2 separate regions of the Homo sapiens genome follow, and region 2 is linked to region 1. Evidence: promoter capture Hi-C in 16 types of primary human blood cells and fetal thymus (Javierre and others, 2016). All regions are on one chromosome and are shown on one strand. Each heading gives the region's core, a stretch centred on a gene start or on the middle of the fragment in contact. The rest is flanking DNA. Distances are from core to core; before and after follow the strand shown. Region 1 holds the start of DEFB123 (defensin beta 123). Region 2 has its middle 16 kb from the start of DEFB115.

Region 1 (2,982 bases), core at 387-2,886:
AGACATGCTGAAAGACTCAACACTTATTCAAAAGAGATTGAATTAGCTTAGAAATCATTTTAAAACAGAAAAGACAAATATTGAACTGCTGAGTTCAGGCCCAGCCCCTATGTGCCTTGTCACCCTGGGTTGTAAGTGCTATTTAACTGTCTCCCCTAGTTTGCTCCCCTGGTGCCATGTCATTTATCTCTGTAGTCCTGCTCCTCCCACCACTAACTCCCACAGTCAGGATGGAAGTTCCTGGGAAAGTTTGGTGAGTTAGAGAAAATAGAGAAGCCATATTTCTTTTGCAGACCAAAATTTCAGTGTGTTCAATGTTGTTCCCTCAACCTGATATTATTACACACTTGATGTTATTGCAGTTTGAGAAATGAGGAAATTGATACTCTGAGCAGCTGAGCTTCTTGTTGGGGCTCACAGAGTCAGAAAATGATGGGGCAGGTTTTAACCCGGGGTCTGGGCTTTCCTCCCTACTCCAGGTGAGTGGTGTTTTAGGGCCTCAGGAAGACACAAGGACGGAGGTCAGCTTGTTTAGGAAATTCACACGTTTCTGACTCTGTAGAAAGGTTAGCCGACAGCCTTAGGGTGGGTGGAAACTTCTGCCAGATGAGCAGGAAGGGATAGGTGGCTCATGCTGGAATTGGTGGGTGGTAGGTCTGACCAGGGTCTTTCTCTGTTTAAACCTTCCCATGGGTCCCTCACCTGGCATTTGAGGCCCACTGAGACCTGGAGCTTGAATGCTTCCTCAGCTTTACCCCCGCCTCTCTCCTAACCCACCCCTCCATGTTATGCAGGTCCCCGACACTCCCATGCTCTCTCCCGCATCCAACCTTTGCATAGGCTGACCTCTCTGCCTGGGACACCCTTCTGCTTTCCCCTCTCCTTCCTTTTCTATTTTCGACTCACTTTTTAGGACTCAGGATATCCCTCCAGGAGGACTCTCCTTTCCCTCAGCCTGGGCTGGACCATGTGTACCCAGCCCCCTGGTTTCCCACTGCCACAGCCGTGTCACCCTGGGTTATAAATGCTATTTAACTGTCTCCTCCAGTTAGTTCCCCTGGCACCATGTCATTTATCTCCGTGGTCCTAGCTTCCAGCGCAGAGTCTGGCACAGAGACAGCTAAGTACAAATGAGCTTTCTCTCCCATTAAGGTAGCTGTGATCTTCACAAAGCTTCGTTCATTCTGGGGACTATTTTGCAAAAGGGCCATACCTGCCTCTCCTCTTTCCTGCTTCTCTTGCTCACCCCTCCCACTCCTCCTCACACACTAGGCCACCCCCACATGCTCCCTGGAGCTGGGCAGGAAGAGGAGGGATGGAGCCGCTGAGAGAGCAGCTCTGGATGTTGTAGTTGTCATCTATCAGCTGGCACCTGCTGCTGGTGAGGCGCCTCCTGCCTCCTATACGTGGTGCTAGATGACAACCTGCAGCCCATCCTTCTAGCCCTTGGGATTCTCTGACCAGGCCTTAGTCTCTAAGCCCTGCCCCTTCCTTAAGGAGGTTCAGGTTACCTGGAGTCAGCTGGGATAAGAGCAGCAGCACAGTCAAAGTCAGCAAAAGGAGCTTCATGGCTAAGGCAGCCCAAAATGAAGCTGCAAGTCCGATGCCACGGCTGAGCTAATGGGAGAAGGAGAGTGCCTGGCCTGTGGCTCGCACTCCCTCAGCTGCCCACGGGTACAGCCCTCACACTCTGACTGGACACCCCTCCCTTTGTCATTTAGGTCAGCAGGGAGAGGACAGCCAACAAGGTCCAGGGCCCAAGACTTAATATACTACCCGTTCCTTCCACCCAGCTCCAAACTGCCTGAACCCAGTGACCAGCAGGAGGCGCCACAAACACCGGCTCCGGAAGGTCAGGGAAGACGGCAGAGTTTTGAAGAATAAATACAAAGCAACAGGTAGATGAGCTGAAATGGGGTTCCAGGTGGAGGAATGTCTGTACAAAGGCTCATGTTGGTGTTGAAAATGAGAAATATGACATAACCAGAGCAAAAACTGAGAGGAAAACGGCAGAAAGAGATGAAGCTCCGAGCACCAGCCTGTCTGTCACAGCCCCCTGCTGGGTTCTAACATGCGGTGGCCCTCCCCCTAGGGTCATCCTTCCGCTTCCTCAGAGATCTGAGAACCAACCACTCAGAATCCTTCTTCTGAACTCGGGTTTTGAAAACTCATTCTTGGCCGGGCACGGTGGCTCACGCCTGTAATCCCAGCAGTTTGGGAGGCCAAGGTGGGTGGATCACTTGAGGTCAGGAGTTCGAGACCAGCCTGGCCAACATGGTGAAACCCCATCTCTACTACAAATACAAAAAGTAGCCAGGTGTGGTGGTGCATGCCTATAATCCCAGCTACTTGGGAGGCTGAGGCAAGATAATCGCTTGAACCTGGGGAGGCTGTGGTGAGCCGAGATCGCGCCACTGCACTCCCGACTGGGCGACAGAGCAAGACTCTGTCTCAGAAAAGAAAAGAAAAGGCATCTCTTTCCTTTAGTTCCCTCAGCCCTCGGGTGGTAGCTGCATCCTGTAGTTACTGTTTCTCTGACTGGACCCTGCTTGAAACAGATGTCAAGGGTATAATAGCATACAGAGGGATTACAAGGGAAAAACAACAACAACAACAACAACAGTGAAAGCCATTTCTGTAGGGGCAGAAAACAGTCAATGGGGTTGAAAACTGAAAGGTAAGTGAAACAGTGAGGTCAGCAAGTGTAAATAATTCTTTCTAAAACCCTTACAATGAAGAGAAGAAGAGACACTGGCTAGGAAGGGACTCAGTGGAAAGCCTGGAAGTCCACCTTTCCTGTGCTGTTCATTTTTGGTAAGGAGGCTCATTTCATTTCTTTTTTTTTCTTAATTTTAAAAACTATTTTTTATCTTTTTGTTTTTGTTGTTGTTTTGGATACAGGGTCTTGCTCTGTTGCCCAGGCCTGGAGAAATAATGTATCTGTTGGATTCTTTTCTCCCTAAAAGAAGAGATTTTCCCACT
Region 2 (2,700 bases), core at 30-2,529, 170 kb after region 1:
CTCCATCCTGGGTACCTTCCAGTTACCCTCGAAGCTCCCCTCCGCCGGCTGGATGGATGCCACCACCTTCTCGGAGATCAGCACCTCTCCTGTCTTATTGTCGGTCACCTTGTCAATATGGAGGTGGCTGGAGAGGGTGTTGTTCCTCAGCTGGTGCTCCTCGTTCTCCTCTTGTTGGTAGTTCCTAGGGAGGCCCCGGAAGTCCATGGGGGCAGAGAAGAAGCTGTCTATGCCCCGAAGCAGGTCATCTTTCAGGAAAAGTCGGCTGAAGCCTTGGAGTAGGCTCTGGAGGCCTGTAAGACCCAAGGAGCTCTCTTGGGCATGAGCATCGTGGATAGAGGCTGCAGTGAAGGAGGTCACCAGGGCAGAGAGGAGCAGCAGCAGGACCAGCGGATGCCGCATTGCGGGGGGAGTGAGGGAGGTTTCTTCCACCCCACGCCCCTTCTTCTGGGCTCCGCCTTTATGCTAGACAACAGCCTGGTCACTGCACTCCAGGACTCTGGCCGCCCACGGACTGTTTGGCACAGTCTCAGCTCACTGGAACCCCCACCACCCGGGTTCAAGCAATTCTCCTGCCTCAGCCTCCCGAGTAGCTGGGATTACAGGTGTGCACCACCACACCTGGCTAATTTTTGTATTTTTAGTAGAAACGGGGTTTCACCATGTTGGCCAGGCTGGTCTCGAACTCCTGACCTCAAGTGATCCACCTGCCTCAGCCTCCCAAAGTGCTGGGATTACAGGCATGAGCCACTCTGGTGCCATCTGCTGTTATGCTAATGAGGATTTTCTTACATGTGACTTGACACTTTTCCTATGTTTAGAATTCTTTGTCTTTAACTTTTGACAATTTGACTATAATCTGCCTCAGAGAGGACATTTATGGATTGACTGTGTTTAGGGATCGTTGAGTTTCCTGTGTCTGGATGTCTATATCTCTGGCAAGAATTGGGAAGTTTTCAGCTAATATTTCATTAAATACATTTTCTTTGACTTTTCCTCTCTTCTGGAACTTTTAAAATTTGAATTTTTTTTTTTTTGCTTTGGTATCTTATATGTCTTCTTTCTTTTTTTCTTTTCTTCCTTTTTTTTTCATCTCACTGGGTTACTTCAAAAGCTCAGTTTTCAAGTTCAGAAAGATTCTTCTGCTTAATCTAGTTTATATTAGAAGCTCTACATTGTATTTTTGCTTTTATTCATTGTGTTATTCAGTTCCAGGATTTCTGTTTGCTTCTTCTTTTTATGATATGCATCTCTTTGTTGAATTTCTCATTCAGATAGTGAATTGTTTTCTTGATTTGTAATGTTTATCTGTGTTCTCTTGTATCTCTGTGTTTCCTTACAATCATTATTTTGAATTACTTTCCAGGCATTTCATAGATTTCTTTTTATGGGGAGGTCTATTACTGAAGAATTATTTTGTTCATTTGGAGGTGTTGTCTTTGCTTGCTTTTTCATGTTTCTTGTGTCCTTACATTGATATCTGTACATATGGTGTAACTGACATTTCTTTCAATTTTATGGAGTAACTTTTGTAAGGAAAAACATTTCCCTGTAGAAGTATCTATAATGTAAGTTGGGTAGGGTGCTTTGGCTTTGATTTTGGGTGGACACTGTAGTGTGGTCTCCATATGATTACTTTGGCTGTCATTAACATTAGTGATGTCTGCGAACTCCTTAGCATCTTAGGGTGTAGTTATTTGTGGAAGCTGTGGTGAGGCTTTGGCAGTTTCAGATGTGCTGGATGGGCTGGTTCATAGGCCCCTATGTTGAATGTGCAGGCACTGGTGGTGATGGTTATGTGCTTCATGTGGGCTAGTCTTTGGGCCCCAGGTCGGATGCACAGGCACCAGCAGTGGCAGTGTAATGCCCTGAGTGGGATGGTCCTTGGTTACTCAAGCAGAGTGTAAATGCTGGCTGGGCAGTTCCTCCTTGGGCCCCCAGGTGGGCACCCAAGTGCTGGCAATATCTCTAGTTGGGTGAGTGGACTGGTTTCATTTCCTGAGTGGAGTAGTTGGGAGCTGGTGGTTTCTGTAGTGGGTTGGGCAGGTAAGTCTCTGGGCCCTTGGGTGGTATTTATGGTGTTTCATGGCCCCACTGCTGGAGAGGAGTGAGGTTGCTGTTGGTGGCAGCAGGTCCAGGAAGGTTGCTCTCAGGCTCTGGGGAGCTCACACTTTGGTTCTCTATGTCCTTGAGCCAGTATACCGGTTGTGTTGGACCATCTGTTCCCTGGGGTGTGGGATGTTGTGTGGTCTCAGATGCTGGCAGTGTGGTTGTGCCACTGGGCTTAGCCAGCACTATGATGCTGCAGCCCTTTGAGTGGGTGTGGGTGGATATTGGTGAGGTCTCAGGGTTGTGGAGATGCAGGAGCTATTGGTCTCCATGGCGGGATATAGTCTGTTGTTGTATTTGCTCTCAAAATGGCACCATACTATAGCAGCCTGCATTCCAGGGATGGGCCCCTGTGCAAATTCTCTCCCTGGAACAAATGCAGTCACGTGGATTCCAGGCAGCTTTCCAGACTAGGCTCAGGACATGTGAGGGTCTAGGAGCTTTTCTGCAGTTAGAACTTCAGGCATTTCTGGTGGGAGTGTGGACTGATACGTATCTTTCAGTTACCTTTTTCCCAACAATGCGGAGTTCCTCCTGGCTCTGAGCTGATTCAGCTGGCTGCCTTGATTCCTTCTCTATGCTGCCATCTTG

The links. Contacts are between HindIII fragments. The CHiCAGO score rates a contact against its expected background, and 5 or more counts as called.
Region 2: a fragment that was not itself captured here is called in contact with the fragment with the promoter of DEFB123 in region 1 in 1 of 17 cell types (erythroblasts); the score reaches 5.2 in erythroblasts.

Annotation. Positions count from the first base shown.
Region 1 is chr20:31,439,286-31,442,267 of GRCh38, reverse strand. It overlaps DEFB123 (defensin beta 123), which reads right to left and starts at 1,636. Exons shown (of 2, transcript NM_153324.4): 1 at 1,512-1,636. The coding sequence starts at 1,569. The HindIII fragment of the contact is 4,618 bases long and covers 1,176-2,982 here.
Region 2 is chr20:31,271,872-31,274,571 of GRCh38, reverse strand. It overlaps the pseudogene DKKL1P1. Among named protein-coding and RNA genes, the nearest start is that of DEFB115, 16 kb to the right of the region's middle. The HindIII fragment of the contact is 3,607 bases long and covers 1-2,700 here.